2 separate regions of the Homo sapiens genome follow, and region 2 is linked to region 1. The links are contacts of gene promoters, found by promoter capture Hi-C in human tissues and cell types (Jung and others, 2019). All regions are on one chromosome and are shown on one strand. The core of a region is centred on a gene start or on the middle of the fragment in contact, and the rest is flanking DNA. Distances in the headings are between cores, read along the strand shown. Region 1 holds the start of CRYBB1 (crystallin beta B1). Region 2 overlaps MIAT (myocardial infarction associated transcript).

Region 1 (7,391 bases), core at 4,520-7,019:
CTTTTTTGTTTTTTAATTTTTTTTTTTTTTACAAAAAATGATCAGGCCACATGCTTAGCAGCAAGACTATTTAGCTAAAAATTAATAGCATTAAAACATTATGTTTATTTTTACAGTTACCTTCTACTTTAGGCGGGTGATGTTGGCTTTCAATTTACGGCTGGGAGGGACATTTTTAGATCCAACACTGGATTCTAAGGATCTCCTGCAGAACTGCCTCATCCAGTGGGCAGGGTCTGTGTAAATGGCACCCTCCTACTGTTGGGCAGTGCGCAACCTGCATAATCTTACATGGCAGTCCTGCACACTCCTCAGTACTTCAGGAGGGCACAACAGTAAGAGCCTAGGGAGAGGGGACCTAGAATATCTAAAAGTCCTAGCACCCGTCTCTAGGTCCCTTCCTGTCCACCCTCTACCCCAACTCAGTGTCCCCCTAGACTCACGCTCCACTCAGCACTTTCAAAGATCGCACAGTCTCGAAGCCAAGCTCCAGCACGCTGGGGCACTCGGCCGTGAACTCGTGCCGCCGGCCCTGGAAGCCGTCCTCATCCCACACCACCATCTGTGCCAGGAAAAAAAAAAGGTGGAGATCCGCATCAGAGTCCCGTGAAGGGTGAGAGGTTGGGGGCTCGCCCCAGGATCTGGCAGGTAAAGCAGGGATTGCAAACTCAGATTCCTCCAGGAGCCAGGAAGGCAAGAGCAGTGATAAATGTGAGACACTAGACAGCACAGGTGCCAGGTAAATGGGTGGCCTCTTCCCAGTGCCACCAATGGTTGCCAAGTGGGAATGCAGGCCAGACCTTCCAATTTCTCAAGACAATCACTAGATCTGGACTTTTATGTGGTTCTTCCAGGCTTTTAAAGGCTGATGATAAATCCAAAAGCTTTATAAAACAAACAAACACACACAGAGATGGTCAAAGAAATCATGCCCAAAGACTGCAACCTCTGCCAAAGAGTGTAACAGGTCAACTTTGGGAACCAGAAGACCCAAATTCACATTCAACCTCCCTGTATGTGACATACAAGTCCCTTCTCAACTCTGAGCCTTGATTGCACCTCTGTGAAATAGGCATTTATAATGCCCCCCTCCTAGGATTCATGGGGACCTGAACCCTCCCCATACCCCCTGAACACCCCCTCCCCATGCCTCTTCCTACCTTCCAGGGTCCCGCTGACTTTGTGCATTGCAGGGTCATTGTGGCCCCTTCCTGCAGAAGAGAAGAACATTATAATCTTCCACCCTGACCCTCTGCTCTCCTCTTTATGCAGATGGCTGGCTTGGACCTGGTCAGGATCCACATAGGGAGTCCAGGAGTGACTGGGCTAGGGGCAATGCATGGCTTTGGCCTGTCCCTCTCCTGTCCTTTCCATCTGTCACCAATGCCATCTTCCATCCTATCCCCATCTCAAAACTCACCCTTGCTGGGTCTCATTGACTCTGAGCCCCACTCTGTATTCTCTTATCTGCTTGTTATGGGAAAATTTTTGTGGCTGCTGGTGGGTGGGTGCATCACCCCAGCGAGTGCTGAAATGCTCAGCATAAGAGAGCCCTTCCAAAGACAGCACCTAGCTCAAAGAGGTAGCTCTGATGGTGGAAATTTAGGCAATAGGGCTACAGGAATAATTTGTTTTTAAATGAGGGAAGCAGGTGCTGGTCTTGATGGTTGGGGCTCATCCTTGGTTAGGATGAGGATGGCATTCAGGATGACACAGTGACATCCCTAGGACTGGGGACCTGGGTTCCTCGCCTCCCAGAATGCTCACTCAGAACTCTGATCCCACCCCTCCTCCAAACCTGGGACTTACCGAGATAGGCCCAGGGAACATGTCAGATCTGAGACCAGCCGAGGTCGGGCTCTTATAGGCAGGGAGGGAAGAGGGGCCCCTGGGAGACAAAGCCCCGACTCAGCAACTGGGCCACAGAAACAAAAGCCAGCCCTGGCTGAAGAGCCAATGGCAAGCCGTCAGCAGCTCTGGCTTTAGCAGGGAGGGAAAGGACCAGATCACCACCCCCAGGGATCAGCCACGAAGAAGGAGAGAGGTGGAATATTGGCCCTCATCAGCCCCACAAGGTTCCTGACTAGAGCAGGAGAATGAGCACTAGATGAGGAGTCCAGAAGCATCCTTCCTAGCTATGTGAGCTCCAGCGAGTCATTTCCCCTCAATTTCTGCCTATAAAATGGGGCAGAAACAAACCATATCACAGAGTTGTTGTGAGGTTACATAACATGCCTGGTACAGAGTAAACATTCAGGAAATGCCTATTCCTTTCCTTCTCTCTTTCCCCTTTCTCTTCCAGTTGAAGCAATCCAGATAGGCTTGCCGTTAGAGGAGGCATTTGAACTAGACTCTGAAGGATGAGGAAGATATGTACAGAGTGAGATGGAAGGAGAGGCATTCTAAGAAAAAGTTCAGAGGTGGGAACTTGGGGCACATGTACAAGAAAGAGCTGGTAGCCCAATTGGCCTGGAGCTCAGGGGACCTGAAGGGAAGTGAGGCAGGAGAAGAGGGCTAGGCCAGGGCCTGCTGGGTCCACAAAGCCTGAAGATGAATCCGGATGGCACTGTGGGCAGCATAGAGGAGCTGTTAGTTGCAAACATGCTTTGCAAACTGTGGCACACTTGCCAAATATCCAGGACTTGTACAATTTGCTGTGTGCCTCTTGTCCCGAAACCCTGCCCTCTGAATTGGCGTATGAGGGACCTAAGAGGTCCCTCATACATACATACTTGTGTGTAAAATGGGTGTAACAAGCATAGGAAAACAGCATGACTGGAAACCAGATCATCTGAGATGAAATCCAGCCCTGCTTCTTTCTTACCATCCGTGTGACCTGGAGGACACCTGAGTCCTGCTCATGACCTGTAAAGTGGCCACACCAGTTTCCTTTTAAGAGGGTGAAATGCAGCTCTATCAAACGCATGACTTTAGGCTGGGCGCAATGGCTCACGCCTGTAATCTCAGCACTTTGGGAGGCCGAGGTGGGTGGATCACCTGAGGTCAGGAGTTCAAGACCAGGCTGGCCAACATGGTGAAACCCCGTCTCTACTAAAAACACAAAAATTAGCCGGGAGTAGCGCGGGCGCCTGTAATCCCAGCTACTAGGGAGGCTGAGGCAGGAGAATTGCTTGAACCTGGAGGCAGGGGTTTCAGTGAGCCAAGATCATGCCATTTCTCTTGACCCTGGGTGACAGAGCAAGACCCCGTCTCAAAAAAAAAAAAAAAAAAAAAAAAAAGGAATGCATGACTTTGATGAAGGGTTGGCATGAAAATGAAAGGTTAACAATGCACCCTCTACAGCCAGACTGCCTGGGTTTGCATCCCACTGGTGCTGGCTGGGTAACTTTTAAGCATGTTACTTACGCACTCTGAGCCTCAGTTTACTTGTGTGTAAAATGGGTGTAACAAGGTAAGTTGGGATTAGTCTAAGAAACAGGGGGATTGTGAGGATAAATGTGAATAGCACATGAACAGCAGCTGGAATTGCTCCTGCAACATAAAAAATATTGTGGTATTTCCATCATCTTCATCATCACCATTGCTAATAAGAAAGATGATTATTATTAATTGTTGATCAAAAAGCAGGGGTGCATAGTTTTTAAGAGCCTGGGTTCATGAGTAAAGAAGATGTGAGTTCCAATTTTATCTTACATTTCCATTTTTATGAGAAAGTGGCTGAGAGAGAGGAAGGAAAGGGAGTTGCTTCAGTTTCCTTATCCGTAATTGGGGTTAATCCCAGAGACTTCATCCTTATACTGAGGAGTACAGGACAATGCAAAAAAAAAAAAAGAAAAGAAAAAAAGAAAAGAAAATAAATTGGCTCCATAAGACAGGGCAAAAAAGAAAAAGATATAATGAAGGATACAATAATAATAATAAATGCTCAGAGTGGAGCCACCAACATGGTGGGCCATCCCCCTTCTCTGCCCCCACCCTCTGGCAGACAGCCCATTCCTGGGGCTTTAGGGGGGGCACGGAACTGCCCCAGATGACCTGGCTTTGAAGCCTAGACTGGTGGGTGGGCCCTCACCACAGGCGTCTTGGCCCCAGTTCCAGTGGCTACCCCATCTTGCAGTTCCTGCCCACACCCCACCCACCAAGTCTTGGCCCAGGATGAAAGGCCAAGGAGAGGCTAGGAAGCGAGGGGGTGCTGGGTGGTGGAGGGACAGAGGCAAAGCTGGCTCCAGGCCAGGGAGAGTTCAAGACAGAGCTGGGCTCCACGGGGAGCCTAGAACCCCGAAAAAGAAGAGACAGGAGCCTATCCAGATGCCCCCGCAATATACCCTGCCTGGGACTGGGGAGCCGACTGCAGGTGACCTAGCTGAGCAGCTCCCCAGGCTCCTTCTGACCCCAGCTGTACTGTGAGTTCCCGCCATGTGACTATGTTGAAGTCATTTGTTCCACCTGGGCCTCGGTTTCTCCATTTGTGAAATGGGAGGATTGGGCCCTGTGATTTCTGGCGTCTGTTCCTCCGTCCTGAGGCTTGATCACCCCAACTTGACCTCTGTCTCTCCGTCTCTCGCTCCTTCACTGTCCATGTCCCCTGTGCCTCTCTGTGTCTCTGTCTCCACCTCTCTCTTTGTCTGTTACTTCTATCTGCCTCCTTACTTCTCTCTCCTTGCCTTGGTTTCCCTATCTCCTCCGTACCCTACCTTCTGTTCCGATCCATTGGAACCACCATTGAGTCACCAGTTATTGACTGAGAACCCATGATGTGCCAAGCTCTACCTAGCCAGGCCCAGCTAGGTGCTGGGGCCAGTGGTGAACAAGATGTGGTGGGCATCTGGGGCTTGCCAGGGCAGGAGGCTCTGGGACAGGCAGTCATATTTCTGGCCACCAGCACTGTCCTCCAGGTCAGATAACGTGGCCTGGGTAGAGGCGGGGAACTGGGGTGGCGAGAGGGATCACTGTCGATAGGTCAGGAAAGGATGGGGCCCAATGTGGGGAAAAGAAAAAGACCCAGGTCTCCGATATCCAACCCAGCTGAGCACAGTGCGACTCTCCCATTCCCACCCCAACCTACAAAGAGGAAGTCAGGCCAGGGGGCCTCAGGCCAAGGTCAAGGCTGGACAGCAGGAGAAGAAAGCACACAGGCCCAGAGCTGGCTGGCCTGGGCTGGCTCTGACCTCTCTGTGCCTTCACTTTCCTCTTCTGTGAAATGGGCATAATGAAAGTACCAAATAAGGCAGATTGTCCCGGGGACTGACCGAGATAACACGGGTTCGGCACACAGTAAGCACTCCGTAAAAAAGGCTGTCCATATCAAACCCACATCTGCCTTTACAAAACGCTTCTGTGCTCATTGTCACCTTCTTTTCTATATGGCATCCAACAGGGACACGTGCCCACCTTATAATTGCAGACACAGAGGCCCCCCTAGGGGTAGAGACCTACCAAAAGCCACACAGCGCGCAGTGGCTGAGTCAGGATTCAAACTCTGGTCTCCTGCCTCCCAGGGTCTCCCCTTTTCCCTGCCCCATGTTGGCAGCCAGCAGGGACCCTTTTGGGGGCCCATCCCTGGCTGGGGTTGTTGAGAAAGGAGTCAGGGTAGGGTTGGAAGGTGAAGCTGCTGTGGCCAGGGTTTCTGCTGTGTGTGCTGGTCTCACAAAGGAAAGTGCTGCTGTCTGCAGTGATCCAGGCGAGGTCAGGGCCCCAGTCCCCCACTCCCTGCCCAGGCCTGCTGAGCCAGCTTCCCCTTTGTGCCACAGACTATAGGGCCTGATGTCTGCCAGACTATAAAATGGGGGGTCGGACTCTAGTCACCCATAGCACCTGCCCGCCTGCCTGTCCTCCAGCAGGAAGTAGCAAGTCCCCAGGTAAGAGGGAACCCACAGCCCAGCTGAGAGCTGAAGGGGAGGGGAAGAGAAAAGGGAGACAGAGAGAGGGAGGCAGAGATAGCAGTGCCATGAGAGTCAGAGAGCAGGGCCATGGAGATAAAGACGGAAGTGGAGAGAGGAAGAAAGGGAGGGAGAGGGAGAGGGGAGAGAGTGAGAAAAGACAGAAATAGAGAGAGAAGTAAATATAATTAAAAAGGACAGATAGAGAGATAAGCAAAGATACAATGAGGGAGAGATAGTGGGGGAGAGAGGAACAGAGAGGGAGAGAAACAGACAGGCAGATAGGCAGAAAGAGGGAGAGAAGTAAGAAACAGATAGAGAGGCAAAGACAGGGAAGAGAGGAGGAACAGAGGGAGAGGGTGAAGCAGGGAGAGAGAGAGAATGAGAATATCTCCAGGAAGGCATGAGTCCAGCTGCCAGCCCTGGGGGAGTGTTTAAAGCCACAGATGTGGTCCAGATGTCTGGCCTCACCCCTGGTGAACAGGGGGCACCCCAGAATATGCACAGCCTTCCTGGAGGAGGCTGGGGGAGGGATGTGCTTATCCCAACTAGCTCCGCCTTACAGAATGTGTTCGGGAATCAGCTTGACCAGAGGGTCTTAATCTGTGCTAGCAGGGGGTCCTCAAATCCCTTAACATTGTCTCCAAAGTTAAAGAGAGCATTATTTTTGTCCGGGGACAAAGTTGAGGTATTCATCAAACATTCAAAGGAGTCCACGACCCCAAAGCAACAAGGAACCACTGGAATTGACCAAAGCCCTCTCCACCCAAAGCCTACCCAGCCCCAGTCCTCATTTTCAGAACCCTCCACATGCAGTAAATACATCCTCTTGGGTCCTCCCATAAGCCTCAGTCCCCGGCCTGTATTTGCACCCATACACCAACCCCTCAGAGGAAGCAGACGGGGAAAGGAGCTGGGAGCATGCATTCATTCATTCTCTGAACAAATGTTAATTGGGCATCTCCTATGTGCCAGGTGCAGAGCAAGTGTTAGGGATGGACGGTGAATAAATCAGATTAAGCAAATGGCAGAATACTTTAAAAGCCCAGTTGCTGGCTCCATTTCCTTGAGTTGAAATCAGAGCCCTACCACTTAGTAGCTGTTTGGGCCTGAGCTGGGCCCCTTCCTTCTCCAGCCCCCTGCTGCTCAGAGGGGATCATGATAGCAGCTACTCCATCGGGTGAGGTTCATGGTCAGATGGGTTAATTAATGTATGTCACAGTGCCTGGCACACCTTAAGTACTCCCAAATGGGACTTCTTGTTATTAGTCTAGGGAGGCAAATTGGAGTTGCACAAGCAAATCAGTGTGATAAGCAGTGTGGAAAATTGCAGGGGGCTAAGGAAGGACCTAGCGGGGTAATGGAGGGTGGAACAGCTAGTGGAGGGAACCGCATGGTCAAAAGCCTGGAGGAAGGATATATGTGGGATGAGTGGCCCCCAGACGGGAAGGTCTTGGCTGGGAAGTAGGGATGAAAGAAAAACTTCCAGGCTTAACCGTTTCAGAAGGAGATAGAGAGGAAACGAGCTCCAAGGAGGCTGAAAGCACAGGA
Region 2 (7,597 bases), core at 156-2,655, 49 kb before region 1:
CTGGAGCTGTCCTCCAGAGCCAGATCAGTCATCTGCTGAGCATCAACCAGGAAGAGTTCCTATCCATGGGAGGCTCCATCCCAACAGGTGTGAAGAGGATGAGATCTTCAGGGAGTCACCCAGCGGGCTAGAAAACCACCGGAGTCTGACCGCTAAGTCACTGTGGCCAGAATCCAAGGTCACCCGAGGTCCAAAGAGAAGTCCAGGCCAGGAGTCCTGGAGATGCGGCCCAGATGGAGCCACCTGGGGGAGAAGACAGCGAGTGAGGATGAGGCCACAGCCTCCATCCCCAACTTCCCACATCCCCCCAGCCTAATTCTGCATCTGAGGGGACTCATGTTCAGAGATCCCCCCAGTCTCTCATGCCCCCAGCACACACACAGGGTGGAAGTGAGGGTTTTGGACATGAAACATTTTTAGAAGAAACTTAGGCCAGGCACAGTGACTCCCACCTGTAATCCCAGCACTTTGGGAGGCTGAGGAAGGAGGATCACTTGAGCCCAGGAGTTCGAGACCAGCCTGGGCAACATAATGAGACTCTGTCTCTACAAAAAATAAGCCAGGCATGGTAGCATGCACCTGTAGTCCCAGCTACCCAGGAGGCTGAGGTGGGAGGATGTATTGAGCCCTGGAGTTCAAGGCTGCAGTGAGCCGTGATCATAACACTGTACTCTAGCCTGGGCAACAGAGTGAGACCCTGTCTCTGAGAAAAAGGAAAAAAAAGTTGTCTAAAAAGAGGAAGCAATGAAAGCTGAGAATACCCACCAGGCAGGGTTAGCTCAGGGGACCAGAGGAAAAGCAGTAAAGGGAGCCCATAGCAAGCTCCAGGAGCATCATGGGCAGAGACAGGGCAAGGGTTTGAGGGGATGGGAAGGACTTTCAGAGGCCTTTGATGGCTTCAATTCATTTTACAACATTCCCACTGGGAGGATCTCTGCACACCACCACCCCCAACATACACACACACGCGCGCATACACACACATACACGCGCACACACATGCACGCATGCACACACACACAGGCATGCACACACATGTGCACACGCACACACACACACACACACACTGCTCCCAGGACGAGGAGCTCACCCCCTTGCCGAGACTGTAATAAAGCGTGTTCTGACATGAAGATCTGAGCAGATGGGATCATGTCTCTGGGTTCACCTCTGCGTCCCCAGCATCTGGCTCAGAGAAGTTGCTTGGTCCATGCCGGTGCTGAATGAAGGGACTTGCTAAATTCTCTGCTCGAGCTCACCCACAATGGTCTTGATTCCATCCCACCCACCCCCACCAAGACCACACAGAGCAAGCATTCCAGCCACCTGGCTCCCTGGCCATCTTCTCATGAGCAGGAGCGTTCTGGGCCTGAGGAGGGGGCACAGGTGGGAGGACAACCTACCCCCATGAAACCAAGCTCCATGTGACCTCCCTCCCTCCCTCCCCACATCCCTCTCAGGCTTACCTGGCAGCATCCAGCCGACACACAGGCAGCCCAGGCTCCCAGCTCCTTCCTTCCCCACACAGACCCCACAGGCCCATCCTGGAAGACAAAAGAGCCAACCACACCGCAGGAGAAAACTGCACCCAGGCCCCCTCCCCAGGCCCAGGCCTTGCCAGAACTCCCTGCTGAAGAAAGAAGGACCAGGAGCCAGGGAGGCTGGGCCCAGGCACCCCACCCTCCACCTCTCTTTATTCCACCCCAGAACATCCTTAAAAGGTGAGGGGAGAAGGGTTCCCAGGTTCCCTTCACTCACTCCCTGTTTCCCAACAACAGCAGAATGTGACCCAGGAGAAAGTAGGACAAACTCAGCAGCTTGGTGATAGCTGAATAGCAGCTGAACGGAGAGTCAGGAATCCAGAATTCTGATCCCAGCTCTGCTCCTGCCACACTGGGTGGCCCTGGAACCCTTCCTGCCTTGACATTCACTCAAGGTGCACGGTAATCACCCATTGTTTGAAGCAATGGATGGGAAATGGAAGGGACCCTTCTGCCCAGCCTCAGTTATTTTTCTGCTCCCCCTCCTTCTCCCCTGCCCTTTCCTGATGCCCCATGCACCAGAGGAAATTCGGGGAGCCAGAGGCTGGACTAGGACTCTTTTAAGACCACCCTGTGTCACCAGTCTGGAGAAGACCAGAGAATGACCACTAATCCTGACCTAGGACCATCTGCCAGGTTTTGTTTTTGGTAACAACTGTGCTGTCTTCATCAACTGGCAGACCTGAGTCAGGAGAGTCAGGGAGCTCTCTCAGCATATCTTCAGAGCTTGCTGTCAGCACCCGGGAGTGGGGGCACGAGTCCAGAACTGGAGATGAGCTCAGACACTTACACTGAGAAAAATGCATCTAAAGTCACAGTGTTAACTCTTCACTTAACTCTAAGGCCAAGGAGCCCTGTCCAAGGTTTATAAATATGATCACAAAGTGCTGAAACTGAGAAGAGAAGGGCTGGTTCACATCATCAGGGAGTCCCCAGCCTCCTTCTAATAGCAGTTCTACAAGTACACAAGATGAAGTCATTTAACTCAGCCTTCAAAAGTTCCAGACGGTAATGTTTGTGAAATACTAGCCCTAACGCCAAATGTGAAGTGTGAAAATCACCCTTTCTGGGACCCCACAAAATGGGGACAGGCTCTTTCTTTCTTCCATAGAGGTAGAAAAGAGAATGAGCTACATCACCCATTTCCCCTCCCACTTTGGCATTCTAGGATACTACACTTTCCTGCACAGACCAGAAGAGGGCAGGCTGGTAGGCTATGGGCTGGTAAGTTTAAATACTTATCTGCAAAGATGCTTCTCAGTGTGGTTGTGAACGTCCTGAAGAACCTGGAAATTCCCTTCTGTCTCCTCTGTCCCAGGAACTTGCTGCTCTCTGTAAATAGACCCTGGACTGCTCAGAGGAGCCTGGCTTGATCCACAGTGACCCTTTCCCCTCGTTCTGTGGACCTAGAGTCATGATATTAATAAGGTGATGGAGGTTTCAAGGGACCTTTAGCTGACACCGTCTTAGAGGGTACAAAGGAAGGTATGGGCTTTGGGGCTAGAGAAACCTGGAGGAAACTGTGGCTCTCTCACTCCTACGTACTCAATGTGTGACTCAAAGTTAATTGTTTTTCTTTCTTTCTTTCTTTCTTTCTTTCTTTCTTTCTTTCTTTTTTTCTGGAGACAGGATCTCACTCTGTCACCCAGGCTGGAGTGCAGTGGCATGATCTCGGCTCACTGCAACCTCTGCCTCCTGGGTTCAAGTGATTCCCCTGCCTAAGCCTCCTAAGTAGCTGAGATTACAGATGTGTGCCACCACGCCCGGCTAACTTATTTTTTTTTTAGTAGTAGAGACGGGGTTTCACCATGTTGGCCAGACTGGTCTTGAACTCCTAACCTCAGGCAGTCCGCTGGCCTCAGCCTTCCAAAGTGCTGGGATTACAGGCATGAGCCACCACACCTGTCCAAAGTTAATGATTTTCAAAGCTTAGCCAGTGCCTGGCACACAGTACATGTTCCAAAAATTATTTTCACCACTCAATGATTTAAACTTTAAGTAAATCTGTGTGTGATATTTATGTTCCAGAAATATAAGCCATATTTATCCTGTAGCATTATATGTATATACCACAGTTAGGCAGCACTGATCAAATTAAAATCCCCTATCTTGATGAATGGAAAAGCAAAGTCTGGCTTATCCACATAAGGGAATCTACTCATCAATAAAAAGGAACAAACTATTAGTACATACTACAACATGGATGAACCTTACAAACATCATGCTGAGGGAAAGAAGCTAGGCTCAACAGAACACATATTGTATGATCTCATTTATACAAAATATCCAGAAAAGGAAAATCTACCGAGATGAGAAATAGATTTGTGGTTCCTGGGGTTATGGATGGGATGTGGATGAACAGTAAATGGGTATGAGAGATCTTACTGGGGTAACCGAACTGTTCCAAAACTGATTTATGGTGAAGGTTGTACAACTTGGTACATTTATTAAAAATCATTGAATGGGTGAGTTATATGACTTTTAAACTATGCCTCAATAAAATTGGATAGAACAGGAATTGAACTACTGAGACATGCAACAGGAAGTATGAGCCTCAGCTGGGCGCAGTGGCTCACACCTATAGTCCCAGCACTTTGGGAGGCCGAGGCGACCACTCGAGGTCAGGAGTTCGAGACCAGCCTGGCCAACACGGCAAAGCCCCATCTCTACTAAAAATATAAAAATCAGCCGGGTGTGGTGGTGCACACCTGTAATCCCAGCTACTCGGGAGACTGAGGCAGGAGAATCACTTGAACCCAGCAGGCGGAGGTTGCAGTGAGCCGAGATGGCTCCACTGCACTGCAGCCCAAACAGCAGAGCGAGATCTTGTCTCAAAAAAAAAAAAAAAAAAAAAAAAGCTGAACACAGAAGCTTCCATATATATGGAACATTAAAAAAAAAAAAGAATCCAATCTACTTCTGAGAAAGCAGGTCAGTGGTTTCCTGGGACTGGGGCTGGGACTGGGGCTGAGAGGGGATTGGCTGGGAGGGAATACAGGGGAACATTTTAGAACGATGAAAATGTTCTACATCCTGATTGTGGCAATGGTTACACAGGTGTATACCTTTGTCAAAACACATTGAAATGTGTGCTTTAAACGGGTGCATTTCCTTGTATGTAAATTATACCTCAATAAAGTTATTTTTGTAAAACTCATTTGTATGTGATGAAAGAGGACTGGAACTAAAAAGTGCCAGATCAAAGGCCGCACAAAGAACCAGTTGTGAGCACCAGGGCCTCATCATCTCAGCTTTCACTAGGCCACACAGACCACCCACTTCAAGCCAAGGTCAGTCGGGAAAGCCACGATTGGGGAACTGGAACCCAGAGGGTCATCAGAAGTCTCTCCCACCTTAAGATTCAGGAGGTCTCAGGACATACGGATTTCGTGATGGATCTGATCTCAAAGCATTAAGCTGGTCTCTACCATCCCCAGTGGACACAGGAAGAGAGGGAGGATCACCTTGGTTACCCCTGTGATGCCGACGGGGTCATGGTGGCCACATGAACGTGTCTGGAACCACATGGGTGGACAGATGCCTCCAACTGTCATCAAGAGAAAAAGAGACAGCAGTGAGAGAATAAATACATACCCATGGGTACAGTGGAGAATAGATGCTAAGGTCCTGTTTCAAATCACAGCGTTTCCCAAAACTGATCTCCTTGGATGCAGATCAAAAGCAAAACAGGAAACAAGGAGGTATTTTGATCAGGCCAGTGTCAACCAATACATCCTAACATGGGTTTTATGGCATGGATTCCTGTGCTGCTCTGCCACCGGCAAACTGTGTGACCTTGACCAAGTCCTTTACCACAGTGAACCTCAGTCTTCTCATCCACAAACTAAGGATAATAACAGTGCCCACCTCACAGGGTTGTCATGAGGATCAAATGAGAAGATGAATGAGACTTAGCTTGAATTCTACCATTTTCTTACATCATTATTATTATTATCACTGACCACACAGTTCATTAACACTACCCATGAGATATTCATTTTTCCCGCTAAACAGCATGTACTGTTCTTAGTAATGGATGGGCAGCTGCCAGGAAAACATACATTTGTTGCATTTTAGAATCCCTCTGGGTTTTTGGTCTTTTTCCCTGACTCTGGAATAAAATGACTACTCGGAGATCTGAGACGTACAAGAGATGTTGGCCCAAATTGCCTTGGATGAGCCAGCACCCAGAGATAACGGAAGCTCCAGAGAATAATGAAAATGTGCCACGCGCCTCGCAGGAGACATGCTGGGGGAAGCAGATGCTTCTGCAGAGGAGAATTAAAGCGCTGTTTCTTTACGAATTCAAACACAATGTCCACAAAAGAGGAGATTCAGAATTCAAATCTCCTTCAAACATGGGAACCCCTGCAGTGGAGAGAGAGGAAAGAAAACCAAGAAGAAGGAAAAGAAAGCTAAACTAACACTTATTAAGAACAGATGCTAATTGGGAGTGTCTTTATCTACATGGCAAAACAAGCTGGGTTTTATTATCCCCACTTTACAGATGAGGAAACTGAGGTTCAGTTAGAAAATAAGGCAACCAGGATTCTAAACAGGCCTCTTGGACCCCAAAGGGGCAGAGGGTGTATTCAAATAGGGGCAGGGACTGGGCGCAGTGGCTCACACCATAATCCCAGCACTTTGAGAAGCAGAGGCAGGAGAATTGCTTGAGGCCAGGAGTTCACGATCAGCCTGGGTAACAGATCAAGGCTCTGCCTCTACAAAAAATTCAAAAATTAGCTGGGCGTGGTTATGTGTACCTGTGCCTGTGGCTATTTGGGAGGCTTCAACAGGAGGACCGCTTTAACCCAGGAGGTAGAGGCTGCAGTGAACCGCGATTGCTCCACTGCATTCCAGCCTGGGTGACAGAGCAGATCCATGTATATGTGTGTGTGTGTATATATATATATATATATATATATATATATATATATATATATATGGATCTATATAGATCCATATATATATGGATTAAATGATAAAAGATCCAAGGAAGGTATATGTAAACTGCAAACTCGATGGCCATCTGCATTACTATTACTGTGAGAAAACTGGCCCATGATTGATAAATCATCTCTGTTCAGTTTATGCCGGTTGCTTTCACAGTCTGTAGGCAAATGATTGAGTTCACTTTTAGGAGAGTGGCATAGTGTAGTAGTTACAAACACATGTTTCAGAGTCAAACAAGATACGGGTTGACATCCTGACTGCACAGCTAATTCGCTGCGTGGCCCTGGGCTCATCACTTCACCTCTCTGAGCCTGTTTCCCACCTGCAATGCCTAATCCCTGCCTTATCATGGAGTCTCCATGATGCAGCACTCAGCAAGAACCTTGGTAAACGGTAACAAAGTGGTAGTTAGGGTTAGTTACTACTCATCATCTACTCCACACCTTTGAGTATACAATAGCTCAGCACCCGCCTCCCTTCCATGACTCATCTGGTAGCTTCCAGAGGGGCCCACCTGGCACCACAAGGGATAAGGGGACACCTGCCTCATCTGATCTGATCAGAGTGGGATGGGATAGGGAGACAGATGTCACTCTTAGCCAGACTTCACCTCTGCTCTTGAGAATCTCTGGCTATTGTTCCTCGGAGCTCAAGCTGACAGATGAGTCAGGCCTCAGAGACAAGGGAAGGGATCCTCTTGAAACAAAGACTGGCCTACAAGTTATTCACCAGCCCATTGAATCTGCACAATGGACCCAATGCCCCAGAAACACGCTGCTCGAACAGGCTAATAATCACCCAGGAGACAAACCAGCAGCCTCAACAGAAATAAAAGCAAATCACTAAGTATCCATACAAGACTCAGGGGCTACATAAGTGAACTCAGCTGACACCCAGTGGGTGCACGATAACATTCACTAGCTTTAGTAAGCACCTACAGGGCACCGAACATGCACTGGTTCATAGCCTCACGGCCGCTTTTTAAAACCGGGATTGTGATTGCCACTTTATAGATGAGGAAACAGGCTCAGAAAAGGGAGATTACTCCCTGACTGAAGTGGACACACATGGAGAGAAGGATTTGCACACGGACCTGCGTAACTCTC

Evidence for each region. The method cuts DNA at HindIII sites, captures the fragments that hold promoters and counts their contacts. A contact is called where the count stands out against the background at its distance.
Region 2: a contact is called between a fragment that was not itself captured here and the fragment with the promoter of CRYBB1 in region 1, in 1 of the 25 tissues and cell types used here (thymus).

The regions. Positions count from the first base shown.
Region 1 is chr22:26,616,405-26,623,795 of GRCh38, reverse strand. It overlaps CRYBB1 (crystallin beta B1), which reads left to right and starts at 5,769. Exons shown (of 6, transcript NM_001887.4): 1 at 5,769-5,819. CRYBA4 (crystallin beta A4) reads right to left here and starts at 1,833. Exons shown (of 6, transcript NM_001886.3): 1 at 1,810-1,833; 2 at 1,161-1,211; 3 at 444-562. The coding sequence starts at 1,199. RefSeq lists enhancers at 4,684-5,359, 6,038-6,715. The HindIII fragment of the contact is 18,434 bases long and covers 1-7,391 here.
Region 2 is chr22:26,660,804-26,668,400 of GRCh38, reverse strand. It overlaps MIAT (myocardial infarction associated transcript), which reads right to left. Exons shown (of 5, transcript NR_033320.3): 2 at 5,003-5,085; 3 at 1,464-2,870; 4 at 1,091-1,216; 5 at 1-243. Among named protein-coding and RNA genes, the nearest start is that of MIAT, 7.0 kb to the right of the region's middle. RefSeq lists enhancers at 1-408, 2,768-3,268, 6,337-7,316. The HindIII fragment of the contact is 5,066 bases long and covers 1-3,938 here.